Linked DNA regions of Homo sapiens: region 1 is linked to region 2. Evidence: promoter capture Hi-C in 16 types of primary human blood cells and fetal thymus (Javierre and others, 2016). All regions are on one chromosome and are shown on one strand. Each heading gives the region's core, a stretch centred on a gene start or on the middle of the fragment in contact. The rest is flanking DNA. Distances are from core to core; before and after follow the strand shown.

What was found. The method cuts DNA at HindIII sites, captures the fragments that hold promoters and counts their contacts. A CHiCAGO score of 5 or more calls a contact.
Region 1: a contact is called between a fragment that was not itself captured here and the fragment with the promoter of SLC30A1 in region 2, in 1 of 17 cell types (M2 macrophages). The highest score is 5.0, in M2 macrophages.

Annotation. Positions count from the first base shown.
Region 1 is chr1:211,315,395-211,319,296 of GRCh38, reverse strand. RCOR3 (REST corepressor 3) reads right to left here. Exons shown (of 12, transcript NM_001136223.3): 12 at 2,912-3,902. Among named protein-coding and RNA genes, the nearest start is that of TRAF5, 9.5 kb to the left of the region's middle. The HindIII fragment of the contact is 3,259 bases long and covers 1-2,963 here.
Region 2 is chr1:211,576,818-211,580,577 of GRCh38, reverse strand. SLC30A1 (solute carrier family 30 member 1) reads left to right here and starts at 1,417. Exons shown (of 2, transcript NM_021194.3): 1 at 1,417-2,587. The coding sequence starts at 1,966. RefSeq lists silencers at 828-1,387, 1,628-1,937, 2,438-2,787 and enhancers at 1,244-1,743, 1,744-2,245, 2,218-2,327. The HindIII fragment of the contact is 24,351 bases long and covers 1-3,760 here.

The sequences.
Region 1 (3,902 bases), core at 85-2,584, 260 kb after region 2:
TCCTTTATTTTATTAATATGATATATTGCAATGATTCTCAACTGGAGGTGATTTTGCTCCTTATGGGACATTTGACCATGTCTGGAGACATTTTTGATTCTCAAACTGGGGAAGGGGGTTCTACTGGTATCTGGTGGGTAGAGGCTGAGGATGCTGTTCAACATTCTAAATGCACAAAAAAGAATTATCTAACCTAAAATGTCAGTAGTGCTGATATTGAGCAATATTTCATGTGCACATGGAAACAATGTTTATTCTGCTGTTGGGTAGAATGATCCCACATTTCAACTAGGTAAAGGTGTGTTATTCAAGTCATAGGCTGCAATCAAGCTGTTAGCTGGGTTCTGGTCATCTCAAGACCCAACTGGGGAAGGATCCATTTTCAAGTGCACATGGATGTTGGCAGGATTCAGTTCCTGGCAGGTTGTTGAACTGAAGGCCTGAGTTCTTTGCTGGCTGTTAGCAAAAGGCTGGCTTCAGCTCTTTGTCACATTAGAGGTTCCTTAATTCTGCTGGCTTTTGTCATAAATGTATCCCCATCTGCTGGTAGCTCCTCCTCTGGCTTCCTAGCACTGCTAAGGGTTATTTTGGTTTTTCTATTTCTTGTCATTTCAGTAAGACTGGCAGGGGGAGATTATGGGTAAGAAAAGTAAAAGACTATGTCCAGTCTGTCATCTTGAACTGAAATTAATCTCTCATTTTTGCACTGCACTTTAATTTTTTTAAAAAAATGAGCTGAGATTGCGCCATTGCACTCCAGCCTGGGTGACAGAACGAGACTCTGTCCAAAAAAAAAAAAAAAAGTCACAATACATTTCCCTTATTAAGAAGGGTATGGTATAAGTAGACATGTAAAAACCTCTAACATACATTGGGCAGGTACTATATGCCCCAGTTTATATATTCCTCCCCAAATGAGGAAAATGAGGCTCACAGAGATTAAGTAACTTGCTTAGTGGAGTTGGAAAACTCATTGTGTTAAAGGTTGGTGGGCAATTATTTTGCAAATATAGGCCACAAGCCCTCAATGATTCTGATTATTTTCAAACTCTTTTGGAAAAGATGAAGAGGCAGGATATCAACAAAATGGTCTTTGGATTAAAGGCCTCTTCAAGCCAAATCCTGTCAAATAAGAAAGCTGTTCCAGGTAGTAAACTAGACAGATCCCTCAAGAGATACCTTGTGTTGTGGTATTATTCAGCATCTTCTTAGTTATTGGTAACTGTACCTTACAAATAAGATTAAATTGTACAGAATAAAAATTTCACCTTTCTTAAAATAGTCCAAGGGAAGGAAACATATGAAGCATTCTGTGACATCAACTTTGACCTCATTTACATTGTGAAGACTGTTCTTAGATCTCTCCACTTCACATCACCAGCATTTTTTCCTTAGAGACCCTGCTCACCCAGATTCCTGCTTTAGGATTCTAAAGTTTAGATTACTGCATTGTAAAGACTGTTCCGTTTATTAATAAACAATTGTCTACTTTAAACCAAGTAATGACAATTGGCAAACATCTCAACCCAATATTAACTTCTGATCTTCACTGTTTCTCCCTTAGCTATATAGACTTAGGAGAGCAAAAAAGGGCAGATAAAGCCACATGGCCCTTTAGACACAAACTCACACATCTAGGAGCATTCCTTGTCATGTTTAATTCTCAAACTCCATTGTCACTAATATACTGCTGCAGAACATTCCTTCCCTAAGGCAGTTATGATAAAGAAGTTGTGGGGAGTTACACATGACCTACTCTTTCCTAGGTGAAAACAGTTCAGGTACTACCATAAATCAGATGTCAAAAGTTTCTTGTAGGCATTTTCTAATATGGAATGGTTTCTCAAACTTGATTCTTGGGTTCTTTCCGTATTCATTTATTCTGTTATTTTCTTATAAACGATGTAATCTATAATGAATGGCTAAATTTAAAAACACTTTTTTTCTTGTGTGTCCTCTAATAAGAATGTATTTGTCATTTATTTTGGGCATGCACAAAGAGAAAGATAGATTCTTCTTAGAGTTCGAAGTCAGATTACTATTCTTTTTGAGGAGATCCTGACACCCCAGTGTTAACTAGTTAGCAGTTATTAATGTTCATAAATAACCTTTTGATAACAGGAGGGAACATAAAATTAATACAACATACTTAATAACTAAACTAGGTACTTTAACCCAAGTACAGTCATGCACCACACAATATTTCGGTCAGTGACTGCAAATACACTGATGTTCTTTAAAATTATAACATCAGCAGGAAGCAGTGGCTCATACCTGTAATCCCAGCACTTTGGGAGGCCAAGACAGGTGGATCACCTGAGACCAGGACTTCAAGATCAGCCCGACCAACACGGTGGAACCCCATCTCTACTAAAAAATACAAAACTTAGCCAGGTGTGGTGGCGGGCGCCTGTAATCCCAGACACTCAGGAGGCTGAGACAGGAGAACTGCTTGAGCCTGGGAGGCAAAGGTTGCTGAGCCAAGATCCCGCCACTGCACTCCAGCCTGTGCGACAGAGTGAGAACCTGTCTCAAAAAATAAATATATAAAATATTGTATTTTTACTATACCTTTTCTATGTTTAGATACACAGATATTACCACTGTGTTATAACTGCCTATGATATTCAGTACAGTATATTACTGTACAGCATAGGACTGTTGCCTAGGAGCAAAGGCTATACCATATAGCCTAGGTGTGTAGTAGACTTTGCCACCAATGTTGGTACAAGTACAATCTGATTCACAGCACAAAAGAATCACCTAACAGCACCTTTCTCAGACCATATCCCCGTTGTTAAGGGCATGACTGTACTTGCAATTTTTAATATTCTTAAAAATGATAGTCACGTTCTTGGCTTGCTCTCTACATCTATTCCTAAAAAGAATGTAGGCCTACATTAAGACAAAATTTTATATTATTTCACCTTTATTTTATATTCTATTTTACTCAATTGCAAGCTTATTAAGAACATAAAAAGTTTGATCATAACTTACTCTTACCTCATCCATATTACACTAGAATTAAATCATATAGAAAAACATTGTTTCCATTAGTTTTATAAGATGTATCCACAGTGTGGTTTATTTTTAGTTATGTAATTTTAAAAAACCACTTTGGTGTAGATTTCTCAAAAATGATAACCCTGAAATTAATGAAAATTGTCATTAAAAGATTTCTAGTTTTGCTTTTATAAAAATCATTATTTCGAATTTCACAGTGAAGAGGTACTAAATTCCTCATAGAACATGAAATTATATAAAAATAGAAGACATAGACATCTTTAAATCTTTAATCCTTTGATTAAGCAGCAAGCATATCACTCTTCCAGGCCAAACACTGCTTAAACAAAAAAGAAAAATAATGACGTGCAAAATATTTACAAAATATGCAAAGCACACAATAAAGACATCTCACTATATACATGTGTCATATTACTAATGAAGCTAAAGTTTTTCTACTGTGTGCTCTAATGCATGTAAATCAAATTACAGCACATCCCTCAGATACAGCACCTTGGCCCATGTCTGGGATAGAAGAGATTTTTTAATGAATCACAATATACTGAACAGCTGGACAGATGCTGGTGCTGACCAACTTGACTGACATATCCCACATACTGTGTACTGAAGGTCTACTGACAAGAGACAAGACAATAAACGCTGTAAAGGTATAGTATGCACATACGTAAGACAATCTAAGTGCTTTAAAAAATGTTTTAGATATTTTAAGATATTTAACTGTCCCCTGTGGCTTTTAAGGAAAAAATAAGTATAAATTCTTGAATATTAAGAATTTTAAATCAGCTAAATTCAGGGCCAAGAACTATTTAAGATGATTCAATGAGAAAGAAAAGGACCTAACCTGGAAAAAGAGTTTCAAATATGCCAGTACGTAGGGT
Region 2 (3,760 bases), core at 168-2,667:
TGAAAAAAATTTCATAGGAATTACAAGAATACCAAAACAATGCAAAATAACAGCTCCAAACAAGCCTTGTATACACATCTCCAGGCAATAGCTGGCACTGCATTTGTCCAGTAGTAATCTAGGGCAGTGGGTGGGGAGGTCCTTCTGCTGCGCAGGGGCTGTGGTGAGGCCTTTCAGGTCCAGCTTAAGCCACTCTGATTCCAGCCACCACCCCACCTTAGATGGGCAAGCTGTTCCTTTCCAGATCAACTCATCTCCACCCACAACACAGTGCTTATGTATTCAGTCTAAAATAGCACAATTTATCAAGAGTATTCCATCGTAATTTTAAAATGTCGTGTTTATATTTTACCTCCACCTGGACAGAAACTCGTTCCTTTGTATTCTTACTGCCCCTCCACCTCCCCATAGCAACCAGCACAAGATTCCACCGTGTGTAGTCTATAAATAAATGTTAAATCATAGAGCCTTAGAATTTTGGAGTCAGACGGGGATCTTCAGAGTTGCATTTGTCCAGTCCTTTATAGATGGGGAAACAGGTCTAGAGAGATTAGGTGACTTGCTCAAAGCCACACAGCTGGCTATTGACAAGGCAAGGAGCAGAGCCCAGGTTTCTCCTGCCTGAAGTCTGTACCCTGAACTGTCCTTAGATAATCAGTGACAGACACCTGAGTTCACACAAGGTCTCCAGGGGTTGATGGTGATAGGAGAAACTGGCTTTCCCAAAACATGTACAAAGATTCGGTCCACGCCCCTAGCAGACCTTCGGGAGGACTAACTCCTCAGCTCGGCGTCCAGCAGAGTCCCAAGTTACAGTCGCACTTGTTTATGCGTCTGTCGGCCTCCTCCGACAGGACCGAGTACTCGAGGGCCCCGCGCTCAGGGGCTCCCCTCCGGCCCCTCCCCCGCCGCCGAGCTGTCACACAGCCGCCGCGCGGCCCGCCCCCACGTGGACTGGGCTCGGAGGATCAAAGTCTGTTTGCAGACTTTGCAGCCCGGCCCCCGCAGGTGTGCTGGGAGTTGCGATGGTCCGCAGGCCAGGACTCCGCCACACCCGAGGGGACCCGGCCAGCCCCTCCCCCTCCCGCTGCACGCGGCCCGCGCCCCCAATTCGCCCGCCGCTGCACCCGGCCACGGCCCCCCGGCCCACGCCCGGCTCCGGGAGGAAAAGGCCCCGCCCCTATCTGTTGGAGCCGCGACCCCGCCCCCTTCCCGCCCCTCCGAGGCTCCATCCAATAGTGAGCGTGGCTGGGCGGGACGCCGAGGCTGTCGTGAGGGGGTCCTGACCAATGGGGAAGCGTGCCGGGCCTGGTGGGCGGGGCGGCAAGGCCTTGTCACGCTCGGGTCCGTGTGAAAACGGGGGTTCCGAGTGCAAAGCAAAGTTTTTTTGTAAACCGTCTGCAAAGGCGGGGGGGCGAAGAAGGCGCCCGAGACCGGGCCGAGTGCAGCTGCCGTGGCCGCCGCCTCTCTAGCTCCTCAGCCATCCGCTCCTCAGTCCAGCCGCCGCAGAGGAGACCAGCAAGCAGAGCCCTCAGATGCTCGGAGCTTTCTCGGCGCGAAGCTGCCCGTCGCCCTCTCCTGCCGCCCTCGCCCGCCGCCCTCCTGCTCCTGCTCCGGCTGCGGCTCTTGGTACCCCGGCTCCGGGAGCCCAGCTCCCCGCCACCGCCGCCGCCTGGGTGTGGGGGCTGCTGAGGCTGAGCCGGGCCTCGGCGCCGGCTCTGAGGACGGACGCCTGAGGAGCTGCGCGGCGCGGCGCCGCCGGCTGGCGGAGAACGCCCACAGGCGCGGGGCTCGGCGGCTTGACCCGGGCTTGTCCCCGTGCGGCCGCGGGGGCCCCTCAGCGGTTTCCCGAACGGCCCGACTCGGGCGCTCCTCCGTGTCGCGGTCGCCGACCCTCCGCGTCCCGCCAACGCCGCCGCTGCACCAGTCTCCGGGCCGGGCTCGGCGGGCCCCGCAGCCGCAGCCATGGGGTGTTGGGGTCGGAACCGGGGCCGGCTGCTGTGCATGCTGGCGCTGACCTTCATGTTCATGGTGCTGGAGGTGGTGGTGAGCCGGGTGACCTCGTCGCTGGCGATGCTCTCCGACTCCTTCCACATGCTGTCGGACGTGCTGGCGCTGGTGGTGGCGCTGGTGGCCGAGCGCTTCGCCCGGCGGACCCACGCCACCCAGAAGAACACGTTCGGCTGGATCCGAGCCGAGGTAATGGGGGCTCTGGTGAACGCCATCTTCCTGACTGGCCTCTGTTTCGCCATCCTGCTGGAGGCCATCGAGCGCTTCATCGAGCCGCACGAGATGCAGCAGCCGCTGGTGGTCCTTGGGGTCGGCGTGGCCGGGCTGCTGGTCAACGTGCTGGGGCTCTGCCTCTTCCACCATCACAGCGGCTTCAGCCAGGACTCCGGCCACGGCCACTCGCACGGGGGTCACGGCCACGGCCACGGCCTCCCCAAGGGGCCTCGCGTTAAGAGCACCCGCCCCGGGAGCAGCGACATCAACGTGGCCCCGGGCGAGCAGGGTCCCGACCAGGAGGAGACCAACACCCTGGTGGCCAATACCAGCAACTCCAACGGGCTGAAATTGGACCCCGCAGGTGAGCCGGGAAAGTCGCTGCCGCAGGTGGTTGGGTTTGGGGTGCCCAGAGCCTCGCCTGGCCTTCGGCGGGGTGGCCCGCACGCCCCCTGCTGCCCGAGCGGGCCTGCGCCGCGCCGCCCCTGCCTGCTCCCTCCCCGTCCTGCACACGCCCCGCTGCTGCTCCAGGAAATCAGAACCCCCTCAGTCGGGTGCAAGGAGCCGGCGACGCGTCTGGCATATTTGTAGGTGGGGGCTGTGGGTCAGACCCTAAGAAAAAGGGTCAGGAGGTGATCATCATCCCGCTGCAGTCCACACCCGCACTTGGCTGTCTTTACAGGCTGCAGCAACTTTGCTGGAGACTTGTCTGGTTATGGTTATAACAGCGTCAGAAATGCTTCCCAATTCAATTCCTTGGCCCTCTTGGGAAACGGAGAGAATCCCCAATTCGTCCCCAGTAGTTGGGTGCTGGAAACCTTGCTCTGCCAAAGTAGTTCTTATGCCCATTGAACTCCGTTTCATAATATGCATTCAGAGCGTGTAAACCCTGGTTAAAGGTTTCTTTTATGAACAGCAGTGTATGCTTCAGCTAATTGATCCCTAATCCTGGAAATCATAGATTTAGGACCTGTCTGGGCATGTTTAACATTTTCCCAGGACTTTTCATAATCGTACTGAACTAAAAGTGATGGTAATTTATTCATCTTATATTTTTAGTGGATGCTTTTTATATTTAACATTAAGTGCTCTTGAAGGAAATTTGAAAATAAATGTTGAAAGAAAGGAGATGGAAATGACTCAACCAGTGTCCTACTACCCAAGCTCAATGGTGCTTAACAATTTGGTCTTATTTCCTTCACTTACGTTTATTTACCTTGTATCATTATAAATTATGCTACATAATTTTCCTTTTCGAGTGCAGAATATGAAGTTAGTGAAATTCAAGTTGTACATTGGAAAGGTTTAATAAGTAATTGGTTTTCCTCTCACTCCACTCGGCAAGGTGTTATTCCAAAGAAAATTAAGTTTCTCTGGTGTGTAATTTCAAAAGATCAATACTTTTTATCTTTTTGAATACTTTTGATCAATACTTTTTGAAAAGATCAATACTTTTGATTTAAAAGTTAGTAGGGCAGGTAGTCATTTAGTTTCAATTTTTCTAATAATCTCTGTGATTATTGATTTTTATTGTTGA